Linked DNA regions of Homo sapiens: region 1 is linked to region 2. Evidence: promoter capture Hi-C in human tissues and cell types (Jung and others, 2019). All regions are on one chromosome and are shown on one strand. Each heading gives the region's core, a stretch centred on a gene start or on the middle of the fragment in contact. The rest is flanking DNA. Distances are from core to core; before and after follow the strand shown. Region 1 overlaps RNF180 (ring finger protein 180). Region 2 holds the start of RGS7BP (regulator of G protein signaling 7 binding protein).

Region 1 (6,459 bases), core at 3,417-5,916, 260 kb before region 2:
GGTTCTCCCAGCAGCACCTTAGATGTAGGTACTTTATAAATAGTATACTTCAGGGCTTGCTACTCAAGGTGGGATTCATAGATAAGTGGCATTGGCATCACCTGAAAACTTGTTAGAAACATACGTACCTACTGAATTATAATCTGCATGTTAATACATTCCCCAGGTGACTCATATGCTCTTTAATGTTTGAGAATCATTGCTTTCAGCTGTTTTGTTCTCAGCTTATTTCAGCTTTATAGACAGCTTACTTTGCTCCTAGTAGTAATTGCTTTTGCTGCACGTTACATTTTCCTGTCTGCTAGTAGATAATGCACTTTTTTGGAAGAGCTTGCTTTTTAAAATGTGTCTGGTTTGAAACAAGAATGGAGTAGTCTATTTCAAAAGACAATTGTCTTTTGAAATAACGTTTCTCAGTTGAGTTAAGAGCTGTTGTATTGATTATGGCATTTTAGAGGTAGCTGAATTATTAATTTGGCTTCATTTGGCAGATAGAACAGTTTAAAATCAGCGATTTTATGAAACATGGTGTTTTATGTCATGAGTCTGTTATCATTGTCTTAAATATATGCTAGTGCTAATAAATATATCTCCTTGGATATAAATAACGATCATCTTAAAAAATAAACATTACCTTCATCTGAAAATGGTTACTTTGCAAATTCATTGTTTCAGGGGAACAGATCTGTACCTTAAATGACAAATGTCATAAAAGTTCTACTTGGCATTACAATTGTTTGCTAAATATAACAAAATGTATTTTTATGTTACCTTTCCAAATCTTTAATTAAATGTCTAATGTACTGCTCACCTATATACAGGTATTCCTCACTATTTAAACTCAGGAACCAAATGGGTTTGAACATATTTTCAGAAATACACATTTGCCCTATGTATTCTTGCTCTTCACTCTCTGAACTCATTAACTGAGGAACCAAATAGATTTGAATAGGAAGGGTTCCCCATGTCCTTCTTCTGCACAAACCATCAGCATAATAGATATCCATAGACTATAATATATAACAGCATTTCATTGTTTGCTTTTCTCAAAATCTTAACAAAATGTTCTCATAGTATATTAAATATAGAAATGCCCTATTAACCATATCTTCTTTTTGAAGACTCAAAATGCAGATCAGTATAATAAAGGCTGCAGTAGGTCCTCTATGAATTAAATCTGATAAAATTTGCTTTATCCAGCATTTTTCACACAACTATATGACAAGGATTAGCAGGCCATATGCCTAAATGAGGAGGACATAATATATTTATAATAGAGTCTATGAAAGCCTTACCTAATATGAACCTCAGATTCCTTAAAATCATTACTAAACTTTGTTATTGCAGTTAAACATGCTAACATGTGTACCTGATATGCAGTCATTGGTTTTAGCTTCACAGTGGAAATTGGGTGACAGAGTTACTTCAGCACTTTTAACCATGATGATTCCCTAAAAGTGTGGTTTTACAATATCCTGTGATATGCCCTCTCAGGTGGCATCACTGATTACTTACCCCCTCATTCACTCTCCTATACCTATAATCGTCTTCTCACCATCTTCCTAGCATACCAAACACTTACTGTTTCTTCTGCCTGGAAGGCTCTGCCCTGAGGTATCCACATAAGTCCCTTACCTCATTCACATCTCTACTCAAATGTCACTTCCTTAGAAAGACCCTTATTAGACTACCCTTTCTGAAGTAGTGACCTACCTACCTTACATCTACATTCTTAATTTCTCTACTTAGTGTGGTTTTTCTTCATAGTACTTATTGCCACCTAATACATATTTTAATCTTTTTCTACCCTACTGGACTATAAATCTCACAAGAAAAAGGTGTTTTGGGTTGTATTTACTACTGTACAAATAATAATTCAATGTTATTGAATGAATGACATTTTATTAAGTATATATAAATGAGATTCATATGTTGGTCTCTCCCAGTTGTATTTTTAACATTAGATACATGATTTGGAACTATGCAAATATAATACAAATACAATAGTGGAAGACATTGTTAGTTCACTAACTTAGCACCTATTTCCAGCCTCCTTCTTTGCCTGCCTTTACTGTAGAAGACCCCTTCCCAAAAAACAAAGACACAAATTCTAAATATTTTACTCATTTTGCCAGTCTCCTTGTAGCTAGGATTGACTGTGTGTCATTATTCAGATCAGTGAGAAATAAGCAGACATCTGCTGGGGTCTTCTGGGAAAGCTTTCTCTTATGTACAAAAGGGACAGATGTGGCTGATCCAGACACCTTTTCTTTCTGTCTTAAACAAGAACCCATTGCCTAAACCTGTGGAAGCCAGTCTTGCAGCCTACAAGTTCAGACATTTTAGTACATAAGGAAATGAACCCCAATTTATTTGAGCTGCATATGATAACTTATTCTATTTATTGCATTTGACAGCTTTCTTAACTAATACAAAAGTCTTTGGGAGGAGGGTATGCTCAGTATTTGGCACACAGTAGATGAGTCTTATACATCAATTTGAACAACTATCTGTGTACTAAAATATCTTCATAAGAGCTAAGGAAACCAGGTGAAAAGCTGTAGTACTTGGTTGTAGCACAATAATAATATTAATTTTAAAAAGACTCATTGAAGAGGGTAGGAAGGACAGTTTTTCATTACCCACATTACTCCTCCGCAAACCCTAGGCAGCACAACACAGAGAGAGATACTGTTTTCCTGGGGGAAAAAGAGGGAAGTGAGCACAAGACTTTGCCATGGATGCTAACACCAGGCCCACCACAGCATTCAGCAGAACCCCACAGCCCCATGTTCCAGGCTGGTACTCACTGACAGATCCTCTAAAACCACCCTCAAGCTTACATGGTTGACTTAGTCTCTAGTCCTCCCACCCTCCTGCACTGGACTGATTCCACTGGCCTCAGGTTCCAGAAAGCCCTCAGTGGCAGGCAGCTCTCAGAGGCCCCAGCCTTCTGACACAATCCAGTGCTATGCTGTTTACATCTGTCCTGGGTTTCAGCCCTACCCTACTGCCATGTCTGCCATATTGGGCTCTGGGCTTCTGTCAGCCCTACACTGATCGTGGCTGCTTCTGGCACCCCAGCACCACCTACATCTGCCACAGAGCTTTCCCAGACAAAGCCAGTCTGTGAAGACTGGAATAAGTAACTCCTACTTCAGCTGTGCAGAGATCAGTGCATGAGAACAGAGATCAAGAACAATCAGAGAAATGTAATATAACCAGATGGACAACATAAGGTGTCAGTGACCCTAATTAAATGCATGTATGAAGTGCCTGACAACTCAAAATCACTGTTTTTAAGAAGCTCACTGAACCTCAGAAAATACAGAGAAACAATTAAAAAAACTGAAGGAAACTGTAAGTGACCAGGACGAGAAATGTAATAAGGTGAAGTAATAATACTATAATCAAAACAGATATTTTGGAGCTGAAAAGTTTTGGGCATCATCAAAAGAACAAATCTTCAAGTTATAGGAGTTCAAGAATGAGAAGAGAAAGATAAAGGGAAAGAAAGCTTATCTAAAGAAACCTTTCAACCTGGAAAAAGATGTAAATAATACAGGTAAAGGAAAGACAAAGATCTCGAATCAGATTCAATCCAAGTAAGACTGCCTCAAGACATATAATAATCACATTATTGGGATCCCAGATTGAAGATGGCCGAATAGGAACAGCTCCGGTCTGCAGCTCCCAATAAGATGAACACAGAAGGTGGGTGATTTCTGCATTTCCAACTGAGTTACCCAGTTCATCTCACTGGAACTGGTTAGAGAGTGGGTGCAGCCCACAGAGGGTGAGCCAAAGCAGGGTGGGGCATCACCTCACCTGAGAAGCACAAAGGGTCAGGGAAGTCCCTCCCCTAGCCAAGGGAAGCGTGAGGGACTGTGACTTGAGGAACAGTGCACTCTGGCCCAGATACTACACTTTTCCCACAGTCTTTGCAACCTGTTGACCAGGAGATTCCCTCAGGTGCCTACACCAACAGAGCCCTGGGTTTCAAGCACAAAACTGGGTGGCCATTTGAGCAGACATTGAGCTACCTGCAGGAGATTTTTTTTCATACCACAGTGGCACCTGGAATGCCAGTGAGACAGAACCGTTCACTCCCCTGGAAAGGGGGCTGAAGTCAGGGAGCCAAGTGGTCTAGCTCAGTGGATCCCACCCCCATGGAGCCAGCTAAGATTCACTGGCTCAAAATTATTGCTGCCAGCACAGCAGTCTGAAGTTGACCTGGGACTCTCAAGCTTGGTCAGGGGAGGGGTGTCTGCCATAACTGAGGCTTGAGTAGGCGGTTTTCCCCTCATAATGTAAACAAAGACGCCTGGAAGTTTGAACTGGGTGGGGCTCACTGCAGCTCAGCAAAGCTGCTGTAGCCAGACTGCCTCTCTAGATTCCTTCTCACTGGACAGGGCATCTCTGAAAGAAAGGCAGCAGCCCCAGTCATGGGCTTATAGATACTTCTATACTCCCATCACCCTAGGACAGAGCAGCTGGGGGAAGGGGTGGCTGTGGGCACAGCTTCAGCAGACTGAAACGTTCCTGCCTGCCAGCTCTGAAGAGAGCAGCGGATCTCCCATCACAGTGCTCAAGCTCTGCTAAGGGACAGACTGCCTCCTCAAGTGGGTCCCTGACCCCCGAGTCTCCTGACTGGGACACACCTCCCAGCAGGGTGGACAGACACCTCATACAGGACAGTTCTGGCTAGCATCTGGTGGGTGCCCCTCTGGGACAAAGCTTCCAGAGAAAGGAACAGGCAGCAATCTTTGCTGTTCTGCAGTCTTTGCCAGTGATACCCAGGCAAACAGGGTCTGTAGTGGACCTCCAGCAAACTCCAGCAGACCTGCAGCAGAGGGGCCTGACTGTTAGAAGGAAAACTAACAAGCAGACAGGAACAGCATCAACATCAACAAAAAGGACGTTCACGTAGAAACCCCATCCAAAGGTCACCAACATCAAAACCGAAGGTAGATAAATCCACGAAGATGAGGAAAAAACAGGACAAAAAGGCTGAAAATTCCAAAAACCAGAATGCCTCTTCTCCTCCAAAGGATCACAACTCCTTACCAGCAAGGGAACAAAACTGGATGGAGAATGAGTTTGATGAATTGACAGAAGTAGGCTTCAGAAGGTGGGTAATAACAAACTCTTCCAAGCTAAAGGAGCATATTCTAACCCAACGCAAGGAAGCTAAGAACCTTGAAAAAAAGAGAAATTGCTAACTAGAATAACAAGTTTGGAGAGGAACATAAATGACCTGATGGAGCTGAAAAAAAACAGCATGAAAAGTTTGTGAAGCATACACAAGTATCAATAGCCAAATCAATCAAGTCGAAGAAAGGATATCAGAGATTGAAGGTCAACTTAATGAAATAAGGTATGAAGACAACATTAGAGAAAAAAGAATGAAAAGGAACAAACAAAAGACTCCAAGAAATGGGACTATGTGAAAAGACCAAACCTACATTTGATTGGTGTACCTGAAAGTGACGGGGAGAATGGAACCAAGTTGAAAAACACTCTTCAAGATATTATCCAGGAGAACTTCCCCAACCTAGCAAGACAGGCCAACATTCAAATTCAGGAAATACAGAGAGCACCACAAAGATATTCCTCAAGAAGAGCAACCCCAAGACACATAATCCTCAGATTCACCAAGGTTGAAATGAAGGAAAAAACGTTAAGGGCAGCCAGAGAGAAAGGTCGGGTTACCCACAAAGGGAAGCCCATGAGACTAACAGTGGATTTCTCTGCAGAAAGCCTACAAGCCAGAAGAGAGTGAGGGCAAATATTCAACATTCTTAAAGAAAAGAATTTTCAACACAGAATTTCATATTCAGCCAAACTAAGCTTCATAAGCAAAGGAGAAATAAAATCCTTTACAGACAAGAAAATTCTGAGAGATTTTGTCACCACCAGGCCTGCCTTACAAGTGCTCCTGAAGGAAGCACTAAATATCGAATGGAAAAACTGGTACCAGCCGCTGCAAAAACATACCAAATTGTAAAGGCCATCAACACTATGAAGAAACTGCAACAACTAATGACACTGTGAAGAAACCACATCAACTAACAGGCAAAATAACCAGCTAGCATAATAACGACAGGATCAAATTCACACATAACAATATTAACCTTAAATATAAATGGGCTAAATGCCCTAATTAAAAGACACAGACTGGCAAATTGGATAAAGAGTCTAGACCCATCAGTGTGCTGTATTCAGGAGACCAATCTCACATGCAAAGACACACATAAGCTCAAAACAAAGCAATGGAGGAATATTTAACAAGCACATGGAAAGCAAAAAAAGCAGGGGTTGCAATCCTAGTCTCTGATAAAACAGACTTTAAACCAACAGAGATCAAAAAAGACAAAGAAGGGCATTACATAATTGTAAAGGATTAATGCAACAAGAAGAGCTAACTATCCTAAATATATATGCACCCAATATGGGAGC
Region 2 (7,113 bases), core at 586-3,085:
TGGGTGACGGAGCAAGACCCTGACTCAGAAAAAAAAAAAATGTAGCCAAATATCCACTCAGTGATCCATCTGTTAGGTTTTTTTTCCTTCCCACCCAAATACATGATGTCTTTTCCAATAGCACTTCTCCAACTCTCTAACACCAATTAGGTGGCCTACAACTCATTTCTGGCACTAACTACCCAGAGTTAACGTCAGATTTACAGGTTTAAGGGCTCAGTCCCACAAGACTGCCCTCATCTCAGAGGCCAGTCACAAGTATGGGATCCACAGGTTACCAACTCTTCTCTCCATCTTGGCGACAAATTCAGGGGTTCCTATAACCACCTTCTCAGATTTGGTAATTCACTAGAATGACTCACAGCACTCAGGAAAGAGCTTTACTTACTATTAGCAGTCTATTCTAAAGGATACAACTGAGGAGCAGCCAACTGGAAGAGAAACATAGGGCAAGGTATGGGAAAAGGACATGGAACTTCCATGCTCTTTCCTGGTGTACCACCCTTCCAGCACCTAGATGTCTTCCACAACCCAGAAGCTCCCCACACTCTATTGTTGTTTAGGAGTTTTACAGAGGTTTCTTTATGTAGGCATGATTGATTAAATAATTGGCCATTGGTGAGGAACGCAGTCACTAGCTCCTCTCCTATCCCCTGAGATTGGGGGATGAGGCTGAAAGTTGCAAGCAACTAATCAAGGCTTGGTCTTTCTGGTGACAAGATGGCTTATCATAATAACTCAGGCAATTTCTAAGGGTTTTAGGAGTTCTGCCCTAGGGACTGGGGACAAAGACCAAATAACTCTCTTATTATAGTACCCCATTATATTTACTTGTCTTGTAGAAAAGGTTGTAAAGCCACCCTCCTTAGGATATTAACCTTCCTGGCTATTTCAGGCTTTCTCTTTCTATGTACTCTCCATATCCCTTTAACAGACTGACCAGGAACCTCTAATCTGTTCTTATTAGGATTACTAATACATAACTAGTTTTCCTATGGGAGACCCCTTTATCTCCCTCTCCAAACAAATCATTCAGGAGAACAAGCATCCTTAGAGCCTTAGAGTTGAATGCCACAACACTCTCTCTTCCTCCCAGAAGAACCTTAGGAAGATGTCAGTGGGAAGGGTGAACTTAAATGGCTGAGGGCCTCACCCCCACTCCTTTCACACAAGAATCATCCCCGATTTTCTGGGCCACCTCTGTTGGCCTCTGGGTTACTGATATCCCATAAGTGAGAAGAAGGTCATTTTGAGTGTCCAGGGAGATCTCTTGGCTCTTATTTGTTCAAGTCTCCGGAAGGGAACTCTAGGAGCTGAGTCCTGAGACCCTGCAATGCAAGACCAAGAGCTTTACTACTTGAAATGGGATGGGGATGAGGCCCAATCTGAGTGAATGCCTCTGTGCATTCTGCCTCACTGGCTCTCCTCTTTCCCCCTCCATGAACAAGGACAAAATAAAAACAAAACAACTCAGGGAAACAAAGCTCTCCTTTTAGGTTATCAAGAGGTCTTCCATTTGGAGCAAAACCTCACTCCCTCCTGTGGCCCCTGTCTCAGTCTCAGTTGGTGAGGGCCTCAAGCCCACACTGGCTTATTTGAAATCCATGTTTAGGTCCCAGCATGTGGCATGTGCTCCACTCTGATGACACTTTTCGTTTCTAATAATAGAGCAGATGAAGTAATATTGCAATTGATGTTCCCGGGGATTTGATTGGATAAGTGCATAAACTGTGGAGGGGGAAGGGGGTTGCATGGACAGATCACATTAGTATTCCCGTCCTATCAATGTGCGGGCCCGCGAACAACGTCAGCCGGACCGATTCTCTGCGTCTGCCAGTCCCGCCACAGATTCATCTGGGATCTTCAAACAGACAAGCCCTTAGAGACGAGGGATCAAGGCAGCCGATTAGAGCCAATTGCTTGCTTTGGGGACGGCCAGTCCTTCCAGGCCTGGCGACAGTGGAGGGAGGGGAAAGACGAACCGAGTGCCGCTGCGGGAAGACACTGAAGCAAGAGCGACACCCCTTTCCGCCCCCCACCTTGCAGCGCAGGCTTTGAAAGCTGCTCCCCCACCTGAATGGAAACTCGGAACCGCCGGGCGGCGCGTTCCTTCTCGCCCAGCCTTGCAATCCATGCCGAGAGGAAGGCAGTGCGAGCCCGCGCCAGCGCCCAGCTCCCGGGACAGGGTCGGCAATGCTGCTGAGCAGAACTTGATCGCGCTCCTTCCTCGCTGCTAGTGGAAGCGATGCTGCACGGCACAGCTAGCGCTTCCCCGGCTCTCCTTCAAGCTGAAGGTTACCGACCCGCGCAGCCAGCCCCAGCACTGTGAGCTGCGCGCCTCAGGTCCGGGCTCCGGCTGCTTGGCGGCGGCGCCCAGGGCAACAACCGGGCCGCCCGCGCCGGGGCGCACTGCACCAGCGGCTTCGGCTTGGTGGATGTGTATGCATGAGTTCTGCACCGAATGGGCGCAAAAAGCGCCCCAGCCGGTCCACCCGCTCCTCGATCTTCCAGATCAGCAAGCCCCCGCTGCAGAGCGGAGATTGGGAGCGCAGGGGCAGCGGCTCCGAGAGCGCCCACAAAACCCAACGAGCCCTGGACGACTGCAAGATGGTGGGTGAAAACTGCGCCTCTTTTTTTTTTTTTTTAATTGAGAGGGGGTGGGGGGAGTCATGTATGTTAATCATTTGCCTGAGTGCCAGCCACTCCCCCACCCTCAGCTCCTCAATGCCGATCACGTGGCACATGCACTATTTTTAAATCTGCAGTCCCCCAAATTCAGGGTGACACCCTGGTCGTAATAACCCTGCAGAAAGAAGTGTGACAGCAAGGGTCTTGGGGATCAGCGGCTGTAGGTTGTGCCTGTACCCCCTCGAAGAATGGTGGATGCGAAAGACACAGTGAACTGGCTCGCTCACGGAGGAGGGAGGGATGAGGAGGTGGGGATGCTGCTTTCTGGGGACAGAGTAGCAAACAAACCCAAATACAGCGCACGGGGCGCTGCGGAGGGGTCGAAGGTTCCAGCGCAGAGGCTGTAGCTGGTCTTCCCGTCAGGCCGTCAGGCCGAGAGGTTCAGTGGCCCAGCAAAAGGTGAATGGTTTGCCTATTACACCCTACCTGTCGCCTCCCCCGCCCCTCCCGCCGTGCAACTTAAAAGCCATGTCCTAGCAGTAGGAGAGGGGACCGTCTATGTAGGAGTCCCCAGCATCATTCTCTGTTGGCCTGGGAGTGGCATGGTAGCGCTCCAAATATGCTCTCTTGCTCTTCAGAAACTGAGTCTGAAAGGGTGAGGGGAAGTAGGTCTGGAAATAGAGCTTCCATGGCCAGGCTTGCCTATGGAAATAAATACTTGCCTTGGACAAAGAGACTTGCCATTTTGGTGCCTTCTGCTTTAAACAATTCCTAGGTTCCTTAGCTGGAGATCTGGGGAGCTGACTCAGGGGTCAGTGAAAGCCCCTGTTTATGTACTCCGAAACAGGAAACTTTCTGATGAGAAATGTTTGGTAAAAAAAAAAAAACTCACTTCTTTTCCAGCTTGTCCAAGAGTTCAACACACAAGTGGCCCTGTACCGAGAGCTGGTCATTTCTATTGGGGATGTCTCGGTCAGCTGCCCCTCACTCCGGGCGGAAATGCACAAGACAAGAACCAAAGGCTGTGAAATGGCCCGTCAGGCACACCAAAAATTGGCTGCCATCTCAGGGTAGGAGACTCGGCATTATTTGGTAATCCATATACATGATGCATGGATGCTGACAGAATTTTATGGTAGTCAAGTCCTCAGACATGATCTCCACATATTTGAGATTTTAACCTTAAGATCGAAATTCTCTAGAGAGCTATACACAAACTATAGGCCAAACCATAATTTGAAGGCTGTGTCATTCTTGCATATATGTATATATATTTAGAAGATTTGGATCAAATGATTTTTTAAAAACTTAATTTTCAATACTCTGGCCACATTCTGGAATTTGGAGCATAAGATTTGGGGTGGATGGCTGGACATCAAACTGAAGTTAAATCATCTTGCCTCAAAATTATTTTGTCATCTGCTGCTGAACAAAAGGCCTGTGCTGTAGAGAAAAACTCTTTCCCAAATCCCAGATTTACTAAACTATTTATACCATGAGATAAATTCCTATGATACCGCCTAAAATAAAATCCCTAAAATAAGGTCTTAGATATAAATTACTCTCTTCACTGTGGTGATAGGAAGGGGTAAGTTTTAGCATAAGAACAGTTTTTAAAGATTGGGGAAATTCACATATCTCAATAAACCTAACATGATTTTGTCCCCCAAATTTTTATTTATTTTCATCAGATTTATCGTTTTTCTAGCCTGTATTAGGAGATAATTCAGTATGTGAAAACTTCTCTCTTGGGACCCTACCTACACTTTCTTTCATCTCTTAATATTGGGGAAAAAGTTAGCCATGGATTTTGTTAACAGTTCCTATTTTCAAGATAAGTACTTAGAGCAAGGAAACACAGGAATCCTTATACAAATACATCAATACATTAATTTAAGTGCTTTGTTCAGTCTGGATATAGTATTTACCTGTTTATCTATGTGAGTATAGCTTTATCGCAGCAGAAGTTCAAATTAGACTCACCTGATAATGTTACAAGCTGATCACTTGTAGGAAGTATATCTAATTTACCTATTTGAAAGAATCACTGTTTGCCATCTTTAATTCCAATAATATGTATAGTGATTATAAAGTTTATAAAGATTGGAAAGCCATATACTGCCTCTGTTAATAATTACTTTACATTTGACCACAGGCATTTTATATCATGAAAAATGATATGCTGTACTCATCTCCTTGAAGAGAGGGATAAACAAAATATGTTATAACCATATTTTATTTAGTAAAAATATTGAGAAGCCTTATCCTTTTCTGTTTTAACTCTTATACTATTCTTAACAAGAAGTAAATCCGGGAAATGGAGGGGAATTAAGTGGTTCAGGAGTTTGGTGAAGAAATACAGCTGTGATAAATCTCAGACAAGGAGAGAGACAGAAAAAAAAAATCAGAAATGTGAAGGAGCACTGGTAAATTTAGAAGTACAGATAAACAGTAATTCAAAAGGAAAAGCAGATTTAGGACAGGAAATTTTCTCTCAAGGCTAAGGAGTAGCAACTCTGTAAACTTTGTGTCCTAGATTATAGGATGGGATTGCATTTAGGATCCCTCTGAGTTGGAACTCAAAATGAGAACATGTTCTAATCAGAGATGGTGGGCTGGAGGAATGAACAAGGAGTTCGATTCAGTCTATTTTGCGACACACACAAAATTCAGGGTCTTCTGAAGGTTCAGGAAAGAAAAGGTCTGAAACTATTGACTAAAAGTTGAGTTTGGAGGATTTCAGGTGGATTTTTTTTTTCTTTGAGAGGTATTATAGCTATGTTACCCCGGCTGGTCTTAAACTTCTGCACTCAAGTAATCCTCCCGCCTCAGGCTCCAGAGTAGCTGGGACTACAAGAATGCACCATGGTACCTGGCTTGAGGTGGATTTTATTTACTCTGGTGTTTTTAGCTCTTTGCTACTTGTTTGCATGTTATCTGTGTGTTGATGTTAATGGGGGCAGTTTTATAAGAATTAGTGGGAAAATAAGATGTTCTTAGAGCCTTGCCAAAGGAAAACCAACTCCATAAAATATTCTAGGATAGAACTTGACACATTTCCCCCCTTACAATAATAATTAAATGCAATTTAACATTCGTTATAAAAAATGACAGCAATATAATTGAAGGAAATCCCTTTAGTTCCTCACCATCTGGGCTCCGTTAATGAAGGATGTGATTCCCTTTGGCGGAATTCCGTTTCTGATATCATTTGTTATGTGGGTTCTTGTTTCAAGCTTGATGTGAAGGCTGGTAGGGAGGCTGTAGGAGTCACTTTAAAGTTTGAAGCAGGAGTGAGAAAAGCAAAGGTTTTTGGCGAAATTTAGAGAGAAGAACTGGATTTCTTGCGCGCCCACTATTTGTCATCACAACCCAGCTATTTCCTTTCAGCTGAGGGAGGGATTATTATTCTTATTCTACAAATAGGTCTAGAGAGATTGAGGAACTTGCCCAAAGTCACACAGCTAAGAAGTGACACAGCTTTGATTCAGCCCCATGTTTGCATGCTTCTGATTTTCATGCTTTTTCCTCTATATAATGCTGCCATTCAAAAAGGTGTTACGTATAAAGGATACATGATAAAATATAAACTAACCTTAAAAAGAGTATGCCAACTGAAAGAAGCCAGCCACAAAACATCACATGTCATATGATTCCATTCATGTGAAATGCCCAGGAAAAGCAAATCTATAGAGACAGAAAGTAGATTAGTGGTTACCTAGGACTGGAGGCGAGAGCAGGTAGAGACTACAGATGAGCTCGAGAAATCTTTTTGGGATGATGGAAATGTTCCAGAATTGGACTATGGTGATGGTTATACAATACTGTATATTTACTAAAAGTCATTGAATTGTAACTAATAATGAGCTAATTTTATGGCATATAAAGTATACCTCAATAATTGTTTTTTAGAAAGGTATTGTCATCATCACCGTGATTAACACTTGGTTTTTTGTCAACTTTATTATTTTCTACATATGTAGCTTTTAATGAAGGGGTATGAGCTATAGGGTGGAGGAAAAGTAATACTTGGCTCCCCATGCATTCCTCAAGACACCTGCCTCATGGCTATTGCTTAAGCACCAATTCTTTGCTCTGTGTAGGAATACAAGTGTGGGAAAGGCAGGACTTGAAGGAGTAAGTGAATTTATTCATTTTCTACCAATACAGACTCCCACTTCCTGGTCTACCAGCTGGCTTTGGGGCCACAGGAGGTAGACAGGATTGAAGGTGGACAGGGTAAAAAGAAGATGAGGCAAGATAGAGAGGAAGAGGAAAAACAAGGAGTTAGCATTAAACAAGCCACTAATGCTACATACCTTTCATCCCTGACCAACTGAAACCCTCAAGGAATGGTGGAGCTCACGGGAGAAGAAAACTCAGACTATGTTTTTTCTAACTGGCCCTGTTTAAGAAGGCCATCTCCACAAATACAATCAACACGCTTTCTCAAATTGTGTTTGGATCAGCAGAGTTCAGGCACAG

The links. The method cuts DNA at HindIII sites, captures the fragments that hold promoters and counts their contacts. A contact is called where the count stands out against the background at its distance.
Region 1: a contact is called between a fragment that was not itself captured here and the fragment with the promoter of RGS7BP in region 2, in 3 of the 25 tissues and cell types used here (H1 embryonic stem cells, dorsolateral prefrontal cortex and spleen).

Annotation. Positions count from the first base shown.
Region 1 is chr5:64,239,142-64,245,600 of GRCh38, forward strand. The region is part of intron 5 of RNF180 (ring finger protein 180); the gene reads left to right. Among named protein-coding and RNA genes, the nearest start is that of RNF180, 77 kb to the left of the region's middle. The HindIII fragment of the contact is 4,276 bases long and covers 2,529-6,459 here.
Region 2 is chr5:64,504,180-64,511,292 of GRCh38, forward strand. It overlaps RGS7BP (regulator of G protein signaling 7 binding protein), which reads left to right and starts at 1,836. Exons shown (of 6, transcript NM_001029875.3): 1 at 1,836-2,610; 2 at 3,532-3,698. The coding sequence starts at 2,446. The HindIII fragment of the contact is 10,674 bases long and covers 1-7,113 here.